5 separate regions of the Homo sapiens genome follow, and regions 1, 2, 3 and 5 are each linked to region 4. The links are contacts of gene promoters, found by promoter capture Hi-C in blood cells and fetal thymus (Javierre and others, 2016). All regions are on one chromosome and are shown on one strand. Each heading gives the region's core, a stretch centred on a gene start or on the middle of the fragment in contact. The rest is flanking DNA. Distances are from core to core; before and after follow the strand shown.

What was found. Contacts are between HindIII fragments. The CHiCAGO score rates a contact against its expected background, and 5 or more counts as called.
Region 1: a contact is called between the fragment with the promoter of MAML1 here and the fragment with the promoter of TBC1D9B in region 4, in 1 of 17 cell types (neutrophils). The highest score is 5.0, in neutrophils.
Region 2: a contact is called between a fragment that was not itself captured here and the fragment with the promoter of TBC1D9B in region 4, in 2 of 17 cell types (monocytes and total CD4 T cells). The highest score is 6.6, in monocytes.
Region 3: a contact is called between a fragment that was not itself captured here and the fragment with the promoter of TBC1D9B in region 4, in 1 of 17 cell types (neutrophils). The highest score is 6.2, in neutrophils.
Region 5: a contact is called between a fragment that was not itself captured here and the fragment with the promoter of TBC1D9B in region 4, in 4 of 17 cell types (total CD8 T cells, naive B cells, monocytes and 1 more). The highest score is 6.5, in total CD8 T cells.

Annotation. Positions count from the first base shown.
Region 1 is chr5:179,731,559-179,734,258 of GRCh38, forward strand. MAML1 (mastermind like transcriptional coactivator 1) reads left to right here and starts at 1,264. Exons shown (of 5, transcript NM_014757.5): 1 at 1,264-1,869. The coding sequence starts at 1,555. It overlaps CANX (calnexin), which reads left to right. Exons shown (of 15, transcript NM_001746.4): 15 at 1-83. RefSeq lists enhancers at 807-906, 1,668-2,168 and silencers at 1,357-1,556, 1,797-1,856. The HindIII fragment of the contact is 11,025 bases long and covers 1-2,700 here.
Region 2 is chr5:179,708,950-179,711,649 of GRCh38, forward strand. It overlaps CANX (calnexin), which reads left to right. Exons shown (of 15, transcript NM_001746.4): 6 at 29-110; 7 at 924-1,116. Among named protein-coding and RNA genes, the nearest start is that of CANX, 11 kb to the left of the region's middle. The HindIII fragment of the contact is 1,522 bases long and covers 663-2,184 here.
Region 3 is chr5:179,667,865-179,670,564 of GRCh38, forward strand. All of the region lies in intron 2 of LOC105377763 (a long non-coding RNA gene), which reads left to right. Among named protein-coding and RNA genes, the nearest start is that of CBY3, 12 kb to the right of the region's middle. The HindIII fragment of the contact is 998 bases long and covers 872-1,869 here.
Region 4 is chr5:179,906,638-179,909,337 of GRCh38, forward strand. It overlaps TBC1D9B (TBC1 domain family member 9B), which reads right to left and starts at 1,260. Exons shown (of 21, transcript NM_015043.4): 1 at 1,067-1,260. The coding sequence starts at 1,184. RefSeq lists an enhancer at 214-991 and silencers at 872-921, 972-1,111, 1,122-1,181, 1,252-1,411. The HindIII fragment of the contact is 10,003 bases long and covers 1-2,700 here.
Region 5 is chr5:179,750,847-179,753,546 of GRCh38, forward strand. The region is part of intron 1 of MAML1 (mastermind like transcriptional coactivator 1); the gene reads left to right. Among named protein-coding and RNA genes, the nearest start is that of MAML1, 19 kb to the left of the region's middle. The HindIII fragment of the contact is 6,852 bases long and covers 1-2,700 here.

The DNA.
Region 1 (2,700 bases), core at 14-2,513, 180 kb before region 4:
TTTCTGCTGCGTTTGTATGAAGACATATTTGATTGTTGTTTTCTCTTGATTTTAAAATAAAACCTCATGAGCCCTAGTAAAAAGCTAGAGTAACGAATGTTTGAACTACTGATGGTGTATCTCAATGTGCAGCCTCCTGCCACCTCCTGCTTAACCTTTTAGCAATTAGAGTGCCCATATCTAGAGTTCCTGATATCCTTTGGCATCACACTATCTAGTTTTAGTACTAACACTGTTTGATTGCTCCAGTCCCTCTACTCCCCTTTGCCTATTAGTTTTAATAATGGGGCATAATTTGTCTTGGTTTGGTTTTGTTGAGTAACTCAGTTTTACCTAAAGGACTGTTTTTGGTCCGGCGCGGCGGCTCACGCCTGTAATCGCGGTACTTTGGCAGGCCGAGGTGGGCGGATCACCTGAGGTCAGGAGTGGGAGACCAGCCTGACCGACATGGAGACACCCCGTCTCTACTAAAAATACAAAATTAGCCGCGCGTGGTGGCGCATGCCTGTAATCCCAGCTACTGGAGAGGCTGAGGCAGGAGAATCGCTTGAGCCTGGAAGGCGGTGGTTGTGGTGAAACGTCGTCCTTTGCATTTCCAGTTCCCTCTAATGGAGCTGCACTCTTGCATGCTTTTGCTCACATCTTCTGGACTTTTTTTTTAAGTAGTGAGTAATACTGCACTTTTGAAACTTGCTCGGGCTTTTACAAATAGGTGGAAACTACCAGTGATTCGGAATGTTGCAAGAGGAAACTACCAGCTCACTAGACGATTCTGACCAATTATGGGGCTGGATACAAGGAATAAGGTCAAAGTAAAACGGCTGACATTAAAATAGCGTGGCTACTTAGAGTTTATCAAAGTCGAAATTTAAAAAATAATTTAAAAAAAAGGTCTCTGTACTGCCAGGCGGGCGACAGGGACTGGCCAGCTGCGCCGCACTCGCCTGCCAGATTCCCCTTTTCTCGGGGTAGCCGGAAGGGCCTGCCTTCAGCGGGTGCTGTGCAGGAAACCAATAGCCGCCTCTTGGACGGGCTCCTGTCAGTCACGCTTAGCTCCGCCCCCAGGATTAAGGCCCGCCCAGGGGCTTCCCTCCGCCCTTCGCTTGAGAATTCCTTTTAAATACCGCTCTGGCGCCCGAGCGCGCCTCTTGCGTGCTCGTCCCCACGCCCTCGGGCGGCCGGTTCTTCCTTCTCTGATTGGCCAGGGCCCCTGCTCATCAGTCGTGATGCACAAGGTCTCTTACCGAGGCCCCGCCTTCTTCCGAGAGGCCCGAAAACAATTTTAAGATGGCGGCCGCGGCGGTAGCGCGGAAAACAATGGGGCCGGGGCGGTGGGGAGAGGCCGAGGCTTGAGGTAGGCAGCAAGCGCCGGCTGGGGGTCGGGCCGAGCGGGGCAGGAGGAAAACCCGCCGCCGCGCGCGAGCCCGCTCCGCTGCCCTCGGGGGCATGGCGCGGCCGTGAGGCGGAGAGGGGTAGCCGCGGGGAGCGAAGCCCGCAGTGCCAGCCGGCCCCGAGAGGCCCGGCCCCGGGCCCGGCCCGTGCAGCCCGCGGCCCATGGTGCTGCCCACCTGCCCCATGGCGGAGTTCGCGCTGCCGCGGCACAGCGCGGTCATGGAGCGCCTTCGCCGGCGCATCGAGCTGTGCCGGCGCCACCACAGCACCTGCGAGGCCCGCTACGAGGCCGTGTCGCCCGAGCGCCTGGAGCTGGAGCGCCAACACACCTTCGCCCTGCACCAGCGCTGCATCCAGGCCAAGGCCAAGCGCGCCGGGAAGCACAGGCAGCCGCCCGCCGCCACGGCCCCGGCGCCCGCCGCCCCGGCCCCGCGCCTGGACGCCGCTGACGGCCCCGAGCACGGCCGCCCGGCCACGGTGAGTAGGGCGCGGGAAGGCGCTTGTCGTGGCGGCAGCCCCCTCTCCCGAAAACGCTTCCTCTGACGCGGATCGGGCCGCTGGGAGACTTCCCCAGGCGTCCGCGACTCCTGGATCTGGCTGGAGAGAGGGTAACATGGCAGGGAGCTGAGAGGTTGTCATCTTTGGGAAGTGGCACGGTGGCGTTACTTTGGGAAAACAGCGCCTTGAGGGCCTTGCAGGAGGCCCGACCTGGGAAGGCTGGCGAACGCTAACCGGAGGGTTTTTCTTCCAGACTTGATTCCGGGATGTTGAGATCTTTATTCGAAATAGACTAGCATTCGAGTCGCCTGTGATGGAGGGAGTTCCTGCACCGTAGGCCTGGCCTCATTTATTCTGCAAATGTTTATTGGGTCCTTGCCCTTTACAAGATCCTGTGCTGTGAGCAGGATCAGGGCTTTCATGTGGAAATAAGTCGGCCTTTGGTTGACCAACTGAAACTCCTCTGAATGGAAAATCAAGAAATTTTTGGAAAACTTAGTAAAATGTTCAATGAGTTGCATATAAGTATTCCTTGTTTAGGTAGCCTGAACTTTGTGAACTTGAGATTCCTGCAATATTGTTGACAATTCTAGTTTTAATTTATCAGGCCTGTTTAAAATCTCTGATGATGTTAGATTGTTGGTCAATTATTACTCCCTTTGGGCTCTCAGTAAATGTTCCTGAAATTTGTTGGTTAGAGGTTTTTCTTCCTGAAACAGATTTACAAAAGAGACAAGGTTTTTCAGTGGTTTTCTTGGGGATTTTAGTTTAAAACCAATGTTAAAATCTAATTTGTTATGTGTATTTTTA
Region 2 (2,700 bases), core at 174-2,673, 200 kb before region 4:
AGTTTTCTGCTTTTCTCTCTGATATTAGGTATGAGGTTAATTTCCAAAATGGAATAGAATGTGGTGGTGCCTATGTGAAACTGCTTTCTAAAACACCAGAACTCAACCTGGTATGTAATTCCCATTTCTGGAATGTGGCTGGACACCCACTATTACCTTGTAAGAATTTTGTAATTGGGCCGGGTGCAGTGGCTCACGCCTGTAATCCTAGCTCCCAGCACTTTGGGAAGCCAAGGCAGGCGGATCACGAGGTCAGGAGATTGAGACTATCTGGCTAACATGGTGAAACCCCATCTCTACTAAAAATACAAAAAATTAGCCAGGCGTGGTGGCAGGCGCCTGTAGTCCCAGCCACTTGGGAGGCTGAGGCAGGAGAATGGCATGAACCTGGGAGGCGGAACTTGCAGTGAGCCGAGATTGCGCCACTGCACTCCAGCCTGGGCGACAGAGCGAGACTCCATCTCAAAAAAAAAAAAAAGAGAATTTTGTAATAATTGTGAAAATAAAGGCTTCCTCCCCTGCTGTTTAACTCTTTTGATGAGTTGGGAAAATTGACTTTGACGCTAACGTGCTTTTTATTTGAAGTGTAAATTACAAAGTTGTTACCAACTGTTTTTATCTGAATTTCTGGTTTTGCTTCTGTGTAAGTTTTAGTTTTGGCAAGCTTATTTCTTTGTTTTATGAGGAAGCAATAACTGTCTAGATGTGTGCATTACTTTTTTTTAGACACTTAAACGTTATTTTAAATTTACTGATGATTGCTGGTTATTCCTTTTTACTAAACAAACTTGTAGTTAGCTTTTCCTTTAACTGTCACTAATATATTTGGAATTTTATAAGAGGAATTATCATACACTTTTGAAACGTTGCTTTTGAACACTTTGAGTACAGTGACTTCAAATAATCCTTTTTTGTTTTTGAAGGATCAGTTCCATGACAAGACCCCTTATACGATTATGTTTGGTCCAGATAAATGTGGAGAGGACTATAAACTGCACTTCATCTTCCGACACAAAAACCCCAAAACGGGTATCTATGAAGAAAAACATGCTAAGAGGCCAGATGCAGATCTGAAGACCTATTTTACTGATAAGAAAACACATCTTTACACACTAAGTAAGAAAAAGCATTAGTTTGGGGGCTTATGGTATTACATATATATCATCCATTTAATTTAAAGATTGTATATCTGGCCGGGCACTGTGGCTCACGCCTGTAATCCCAGCACTTTGGGAGGCCGAGATGGGCAGATCACCTGAGATCAGGAATTCGAGAACAGTCTGGCCAAAATGTTGAAACTTCACCTCTACTAAAAATACAAATATTAGCTAGGCATGGTGGTGCACGCCTGTAACCGAAGCTAGTTGGGAGGCTGAGGCAGGAGAATTGCTTGAACCTGGGAGGGAGCCAAGATCATTGTGCCACAGCATTCCAGCCTGGGCGAAAGTGAGACTCAATCTCAAAAAAAAAAAAAAAGGCTGGGCGCGGTGGCTCACACCTGTAATCCCAGCACTTTGGGAGGCCGAGGCGGGTGGATCACAAGGTCAGGAGATCGAGACCATCCTGGCTAACATGGTGAAACCCCGTCTCTACTAAAAATACAAAAATATTAGCCGGGCGTGGTGGTGGGCACCTGTAGTCGCAGCTACTTGGGAGGCTGAGGCAGGAGAATGGCACGAACCCGGGAGGCAGAGCTTGCAGTGAGCCGAGATCGCGCCACTGCACTCCAGCCTAGGAGACAGAGCAAGACTCCATCTCAAAAAAAAAAAAAAAAGATTGTATATCTGGAGAGTACCCCAGCCTCCAAACAAGAAGAATCTCAGCCTGGTATGGTTGCTCATGCGTGTAATCCCAGCACTTTGGGAGGCTGAGGCGGGCGGATCACTTGAGATCAGGCATTCGAGACTAGCATGGCCAACATGGTAAAACCCCGTCTCTACTAAAAATACAAAAATTAGCTGGGCGTGGTGTTGAGTAGCTGGTGTAATCCTAGCTACTCGGGAGGCTGAGGCAGCAGAATTACGTTAACCCAGGAGGCAGAGGTTGCAGTTGAGTCAAGATTGTATCACTGCACTCCAGCCTGGGTGGCAGAGGAAGATTCTGTACCCCCTCCACGAAAGAAAAGAATCTCTTCACTTTAGTATCTTAGTTGGGAAATGACCTTAATTTGTCAGCATTAAAAGAAGCTTCTTGGCCACGTATGGTGGCCCACACCTGTAATCCTAACACTTCGGGAGGCTGAATCGGATGGATTGCTTGAGTCCAGGAGTTCCAAACCAGCCTGACAACATAGTCAGACCCTGTCTCTACAAAATCTTAAGAATTAACTGAGTATAGTGGCATGTGCCTGTAGTTTCAGCTACTCAGGAGGCTGAGGTATGAGGATTGCTTGAGCCCAGGAAGTCGAGACTGTAGTGAGCCATGATCTTGCCACTGCACTGTAGCCTGGGTGACAAAGTGAGATGCTGTCTCAAAAAACAAAACAAAAAACCCAAAAAACTTCTTTTCCACAGGAACTGAGGTTCGAGATAATTTTAAGAATAGAATAGGTGTTTTTGGCCAGGCATGGTGGCTCGTGCCTATAATCCCAGCACTTTGGGTGGCCGAGGTGGGCGGATCACCTGAGGTCAGGAGTTTAAGACCAGCCTGGCCAACATGGTGAAGCCCCATCTCTACTAAAAATACAAAAATTAGCCGGGC
Region 3 (2,700 bases), core at 121-2,620, 240 kb before region 4:
ATCACTTGAATCTGGGAGGCGGAGGTTGCAGTGAGCTGAGATCACAGCACTGCACTTCAGCCTGGGTGACAGAGCGAGACTCTCTCAAAAACAAAACAAAATTTCTTTTTCTTTGATTTTCTTTTTGTAGAGATGGGAGTCTCATTATATTGCCCAGGCTGGTCTTGAACTTCTTGCTTCAAGCGATCTTCCTGCCTTAACCTCCCAAAGGGCTGGGATTACAGGCGTGAGCCACTGCACCTGGCCTAAAATATCTTTCTGTAATTCAATCTGTAGGTCAAACCTGCCACTCTAATGTAGTGGTAGAAACTGAATTTCAGTTAATTTGGAGGTTTTCCTGTCTTTCCCACAGGGGTATGGCACTGTCAGCGGAAGACTGTCAGATCTCTGCAGCATGACCCTCATCCTTGTTCCCAACCTTTTCTGTCAGTCACTGTCTGCCTCCCTTTCTTTGGTTGGCTGCCCATCAATGACCTATTATCATCATTGCCATAGATCCCTGAGAAGCACTCCCCCTCCCACAGTTGCCATTCCAATCTTGCTACACAGTATAAGAGCCCTCTTGGCTTCTGAGGGTTAAATGTTGCCATCCAGAATGGTTAAATGCCATTCCAGAATCGTGTCATCCCCAAGACACTAAGGAGCCAAGTTCCATGGCAGCATCTCCTAGCCACAGAGCACAGCCACCACCAGCTTTCTATGACACCAGTGCCCCCTCACGTCCACATTCTGCATTGCCTTAGTGAAGAGCGCCTCCTCTGGGCAGCTCCATGAAACACCTTCTGGTCTCATGTAATAAATCCGTTCTAACATTCCCACTTCCCTGAGCCTTCATCTCTACCTCATTAATGGTAGGCCACTATGGTGTCCAAGCTTCCGGGAGCCGTCTGGCGTGAAGACAAGCTCCAGCTGTCCTTTGACAGGACTTTAAATCCTGAGTCTTGGGGCATGCACCCTTGTCAATCAATGCCCCACCGGTCTTCTATTGCCCCCTCCCCGCCTGGATCTGGTACCCCACCTGGATCTGGTACCCTCATGATCGCTCCCGCAAGTGTTCTCCCAGGTCCTGCAACTTTTTGGGTGACTGAGTGATTTCCTCCTAGGGTAGGAAATATTTCACTGCTTGGGCTATGCTGAGATGTGATCCTGCTTGTTGGTCTGGAGGCAATGAGAGGAGGTGGATCTTGAGGAGGATTAGTGTTATCTTACAGGGTACTCACCTGTAACGGGGAGATCTCTGCACTGTCTCCAGGCTAGATGAAGCTGTCCTCCTCTGTCAATGGGAAGAAGGCAGTTTCTGCTGGCCAGGATGCTTCAGGGGACTCTGGGGGCTCAAGGTTCTTTGGTACATCCACCCAAACATCCCACGTCAGGCCTAGAGTCCCATTTATTCCTTTAAAAGCACCCAATGGGCCGGTTACTGTGGCTCATGTCTGTAATCCCAGAAGTTTGTGAGGCCATGGCAGGTGGATCAGTTGAGGCCAGGAGTTCGAAACCAGCCTGAGGAACATAGCAAGATCCCCGTCTCTACAAAAATAAAAATAATAGAAGCCCCCACTTTAGTACAGGAGACCTGCTGAGGATGCACAAGTGTCTTTTGCAGCTCTGCTGCTCTTGTGATGAAATATTGGTTCTCATTTTCAGCATGCTCTGCCTCCTGGCCACGGAAGCAAGGTTTTCTTTACATGTTGTCTTGGGAGAGTTCCTGCCTTTCACAGCATACTCTGAGTAGATAGCAGGCTGAACTGCATCTTTCATTCTCTTGCTTCAAAGCTGCTAAGGTGATTTAGAAAAGCTAGCCACCTCCATAATCCTTGCAACAGCAGCTGCTTCCACATCTTTCAAGTGACAAAGCTACTGCATAAGCCAAGCTTTCTCTTCAACTTCTATCTCCTTATCTACCACAGGTAAGAGTCTCATGCTTCAGGACACAAGGTTATCACCAACTGTGTGTGTGTGTGTGTGTGTGTCTTTGTTGCCTTCCGAATGGTAAGTGATCTACTTTTAGATTCCTATCGCTAGGTCTGTCTTCTAGTGCTACCTCTATTACTCATTGCCTTAGCTTGAATCCTCACAAAAACAGAGCTTGATCCTGGAACTTCGGCATAGTTAACTTGGGACATTCCAGGAAACTGTAATCCATGTAATTCCATGCCTATAATCCCAGCACTCTGGGGGCCAAGGTGGGTGAATCAGTTGAGGCCAGGAGTTTGAGACCAGCCTGGTCAACATGGGGAGAGAGATTGGGAAGAGTGACCCAGGGTACAGAACCATGAGCCACAGCTGCAGCTTCAGTCAGAGCAGGGCTGACCAGATATAACCAGAAGTCCCAACAGCATCCTGGACACCTCTCCTGCCTCCTAAGGGTGCAGAAATCTGTGACAATGGCTAAGCAGTATCTGCTCCTCTGGATTCAGGTGCCTATCTCTTGTGGAGCTTTGTTCATTCTAGAAGTACTTGGAGAGGTCCAAGCATCGTGCCTCACGCCTGTAATCCCAGCACTTTGGTGGCCAAGGTGGGCGGATCAGTTGAGGTCAGGAGTTTGAGACCAGCCCGGTCAACATGGCAAAACCCCACCTCTGCTAAAAACACAAAAATTAGCCAATCGTGGTCGTGCAGACCTGTAATCCTAGCTACTTGGGAGGCTGAGGTAGGAGAATCACTTGAACTCGGGAGGCAGAGGTTGCAGTAAGCCGAGAT
Region 4 (2,700 bases), core at 10-2,509:
AGGAGCCCGAGATCCTTGAAGCCCACTGGGAGGGAACCCGAAGCTGAAGGGAACACTGAGTGTTTCTGGGAACAGAACAGTCTCTTCCACATGAAGAAACGTGGCCCAGGAGAAGCCTCCGTCTGCATCTGGCTATTAGCTGCTCACACTGAAAATCAGGATGATTCACAGAAAATGCTCTTGATAAACTGGACGACCTGGCAACACTGGGACCGCAATCCTGTAGGGCAACAGTCGGTGCCCCGAAGAGCACAGGCACTGAGCCCGAGCCAGCCGGGCTCCTGCAGTGCTGGGCGCAGGCCCTGGAGCATGAGGGGCCCCGGACACCACCTGCGGAGGGAGTGGCCTGTGGGCCTCCCCTGGATCCCACAGGCCGCACGACTCCAAGGGTGCCTGTCCAGCTTCATCCTGTGTGATGGTGGCACCCGGGCCCACAAAGGGCCACCTTGGCGAGCTTGCAGGAACACCCTGTGCCGCTACCCACAGCCTTGGGTGCGCAGCTCTGAGAGCAGCCAGGAGCAGGAAAGGTGGGGGAGGAGAAGCTGGGGGAATGGGGGTGCGGCCAGCTCCAGGGACCTCTGATCTTGCTAAAAGGGCGATACTTTGGTGAGATGGGCACGAAGAAGAGGGCAAAAGAAAACGTGCGCTGGCGTCACCTGGCCCCTTAGAGGCACCTGGGGAAACTGAGGTGGAGGATGAGGACAGGGCGGTCTCGCCAACTTTCGGCGGTGAGATCCCGGGAAGCTGCACGGCCCCCGGGGCTCGCGGGCGCCGAATCCGGGCAGAAGCCGCCGCCGGTCTCCACTTGGCCGCCCCAAGCCGACCTGAGGAGAGCCCGCCGAGGGCGCATTCGCCTCCCGCCAGCCCCTCGCCTCCCCGCCCCGGCCCCTCCGCGCCCGGCTCCCGGGTCCTGGCCTCGCGCCCCCGCCCCGCCGCGCGCTGGCGTGCGTGTCCGCCGCGACGCGCCGAGGCCGGGCCGGAACCGGACCCGCCCGCCGCCCGCCGCCAGCCCCGCCGCCAGCCCAGCCGCGGCGCCCACAGGCCCGGCCGCCCGCGCGCCTCTCACCCGTAAGGCCGCCGCCCCTGCCGTGGCCCCGGCGTCGCTGCAGCACGAAGAAGGGGTTGGCCCGCTCCGTCACCCACAGCGCATTGGCCACCAGCACCTCCTCCGGGCTCAGCCACATCGCGGAGCCGCTCGCACCGGGCCGAGGCCCGCGAGACGGAAGCGCCCGCCGCCGTCGGCGTCCCGGAGCGGAGCGTGCGGAGCGGAGCGTGCGGAGCGGGCCGGGGCGGGGCGGGGCCGGGCGGGCGGCGCCCCCTGGCGGGCGTGTGGCGCTCCCGCACGCGGCCCGAGTTCCGCGCCGCCCCCTCAGCCCCGGCCTCGGGCGCGCGCCAGCCTGGCCTCCTGGAGCGGTGCAGCCCACGGCCTCCGGCCTGGGTCCAGAACGGAACGGCCCAGTCCGCAGACAGGGGAGCCGCTGTGCAGAGCAGGGCTTCTGGCGTTTTGAAAGCTGTGCAGTGTGAGAGAAGGATGTCAAGAAGCAGAGTTTGGCGGCTTTTGGCTGGTTGCGCGTGCAACCCGGGGCGTGTTAGCACTGCAAAGGGCGCCTGGAAAGGGTTTGCAGTTCCTCCTAATTCTCAGCTTTCTTTTCTTTTTTTTTTTTCGACAGAGTCTTGCTGTGTCGCCCAGGCTGGAGTGCAGTGGCGCAATCTCAGCTCACTGCAACCTCTGCCTCCCGGGTTCAAGTGATTCTCCTGCCCCAGCCTCTTTAGCTGGGATTACAGGCTCCCGCCAACACGCCCGGCTAATTTTTTTGTATTTTTAGTAGAGACGGGGTTTCACCATGTTGGCCAGGCTGGTCTCGAACTCCTGACCTCGGGTGATCCGCCTACATTGGCCTCCCAAGTCCTGGGATTACAGGAGTGAACCATCGCGCCCGGCCAGTTCTCAGAATTCTGACACTGGGGCCGGGAGACTAGAAGAATCTTCCAGCGCAGGGCAGGTGCCAGGAGGCCCTGATACGGGCTGCATCCTTGGAAATCAGTGCTGCCCCTCCCCTGACAGACGGGTCACAGAGGCTGGCCGGCCCTGGGGATGGGGTCTGGACTGGCCCTGGGCCCAGTGGCGGCTTCTGCGCAAGTGTGAGGCTGGCTGCAGGCGAATGCGGGTCCCTGGTCTCCCAGTGTTGGCCTGCAGGGGCAGCGCCAGTCCACACACAGCCTTCTGCATGAGGGGGCTGTCAACTCCACCTGGGACAACGGGCCTGGGGCCTGTCCGGGGTCGACTGGGATGTGGGGTCACCCTGCTGGCTGGAACCCTCACCAGGGTCTGGCTAGAGGGCAAAGGGAAGGGGGCAGTTAAACCATCCTTGGAGCTGGACCTGACTTCCAGGTGGGTTTCTGTGATTGGCACTCAAGAATCTTGGTGCGATGGATGTAGGTACATGCAGTTGACACCCAGAGTGATCTGCAGTCTTCTTCAATGTTGCTGGATATAGGAATCAGCTTTCAAGATGCAGAGGCGGGCTTTCTTCAACACCTTGGAAGTCTGAACTAATATTGTCATTGTGCTCTCTAGAGGGAAAGAATTTGGAAGAACTGCACTTTTTAACACCCTGAGAGGAGGTAAAGAGTCGTCTTGTTCCTTAATCCCAGTGGTTCTCAAATTGGGTATACATTAGGATCACCTGGAAGGCTGAT
Region 5 (2,700 bases), core at 88-2,587, 160 kb before region 4:
GCAGCTGGCACAGAGCCACAGTGCCTGCTGTATGGAGCCCTTTGTGCAGTAAGGAGCTGCTGCTGGGCCCAGGCGGCAGGTCCCGGGGGCTTCCCTTATCTTCAGTGCTGTCCTGAAAACTTAGTTGTTCAAGGCTACTTTTTTTTAAATCAGAATCTCGCTCTGTCACCAGGCTGGAGTGCAGTGGCACGATCTTGGCTCACTGCAACCTCTGCCTCCTGGGTTCAAGCGATTCTCCTGTCTCAGCCTCCCGAGTAGCTGGGACTACAGGCGCACACCACGATGCGTAGCTAATTTTTTATTTTTAGTAGAGACAGGGTTTCACCATATTGGTCAGGCTGGTCTCAAACTCCTGACCTCAGGTGATCCACCCGCCTCGGCCTCCTAAAGTGCTGGGATTACAGGCGTGAGCCACCGTGCCCAGCTGGCTACTTTCTATAGTTATACTGTCCATGAGGGTAGCCATCAGCCAGGTCAGGTTCTTAAGCACGTGGAATGCACCTTGTTAAACTTGACTTGTGCTAAAAGTGTAAAATGCACACTGGATTTTGATAATTTAGTACCACAGATTTTTTTGGTGCACTCACTTCAGTGGCTGTCACCTGTAATCCCAACACTTTGGGAGGCCAAGGCGGGCGGATCATGAGGTCAAGTTCGAGACCACCCTGGCCAGCATGGCGAAAGCCCGTCTCTACTAAAAATACAAAAATTAGCCGGGCATGGTGGCGCACACCTGTAATCCCAGCTACTCGGGAGGCTGAGGCAGGAGAATCACTTGAACCCGGGAGGCAGCGGGTGCAGTGAGCCAAGATCATGCCACTGCACTCCAGCCTGGGTGACAGAGCGAGACTCCATCTCAAAAAAAGAAAAAAATACCGATTATGGCCAGGCACAGTAGCTCATGCCTGTAATCCCAGCACTTGGGGAGGCTGAACTGGGCAGATCACTTGAGCCCAGGAGTTCAAGACCAGCCTGGGCAGCATGGCAAAACCCCATCTTTACAAAAAATTAGCCAGGCTTGGTGGTGTACACCTGTAGTTCCAGCTACTAGGGAGGCTGAGGTGAGAGGATCATCTGAGCCTGGGAGGTCAGGGCTGCAGTGAGCTGTGATTGCACCACTGCACTCCATCGTGGGCAATAGAGTGAGACCTTGTCTCAAAGAAAAAAAAATACTGATTACATGTTAAAAAGATAATATAGGCCCAGTGTGGTGGCTCACACCTGTAATCCCAGCACTTTGGGAGGCCGAGGTGGGTGGATCACGAGGTGAAGAGATCAAGACCATCCTGGCCAACATAGCGAAACCCCCTCTCTACTAAAAATACAGAAATTAGCTGGGTGTGGTGGCGCACGCCTGTAGTCCCAGCCACTCAAGAGGCTGAGGCAGGAGAATCGCTTGAACGCGGGAGGTGGAGGTTGCAGTGAGCCGAGATCGCACCACTGCACTCCAGCCTGGCAACAGAGCTAGACTCTGTCTCCAAAAAAAAAAAAAAAAAAAAAAAAAATATATATATATATATGGTTAAATAACATTATTAAAGATATTAAGATTTTTTCTCAAAAAATACTGATTATATGTTAAAAAGTTCATATATATTGGGTTAAATATGATATTAAAATTGGCACCATCTGTTTCTTTTTATGTGCTACTAGCAAATTTTGCCCACACTTGTGGCTGGCATATTTCTATTAGTGCTGTTGAGTAATGAGTACGTTTGTACTGTGTTGAGTTTAACACTTTATTAGATACTCTTTTTTTTTTTTTTTTTTTTTTTTTTGAGATGGAATCTCGCTCTGTCGCCCAGGCTGGAGTGCAGTGGCGTGATCTCAGCTCACTACAAGCTCCGCCTCCCGGGTTCACGCCATTCTCCTGCCTCAGCCTCTGGATATTACTCTTTATGTCCTCTTTCATCTGTGGAACTCATTTATTTTATTTTATTTTTTTGAGAAGGAGTCTCACTCAGCTGCCCAGGCTGGAGTGCAGTGGTGCAATCTCGGCTCACCGCAACCACCATCTTCCAGATTCAAGTGATTCTCCAGTCTCAGCCTCCTGAGTAGCTGGGATTACAGGCACCCGCCATCATGCCCAGCTAATTTTTGTATTTTAGTAGAGACAGGGTTTCACCATGTTGGCCAGGCTGGTCTTGAACTCCTGACCTCAGGTGATCCGCCCGTCTTGGCCTCCCAAAGTGCTGGGATTACAGGCGTGAACCACAGCACCTGGCCCATCTGTGGAACTCTTATCTCACTGTCACTTCACAATCATTGGAACAGGAAAGACTGTATTTATAATTACTGATTTCAGTTTGCTCACCTAAATCCTAGATGCTATTTTTTAGTGTGTGTGTGTGTGTGTGTGTGTGTGTGTGTGTGTGTGCGCGCGCGCGCGCGCGTGCTGGGGTGAAGGAGTCCTGAATTCACATTGTCTGTCTTTGGCCTCTGGCAATCTGCCTTCTGATTTCACTACTCAATTAAACCAGTCTATCTTGACATCTTTAATGCGTTTTTACTTTTATTACCCTCCGTGCTACGTTTGATAATATTTCAAATTTTTCTCCTTAAGATAGAATTGCTGCACTTAACTCCCAGATCCATTTGGACAAGTAGATTCAATTGTTTTATTTGTAAAGGGAATAAGGGTGTCCAGCTTGGTCAAAGGAGTTTGAGGAGTACATGCATGTTCTGGACTTACACACCGAG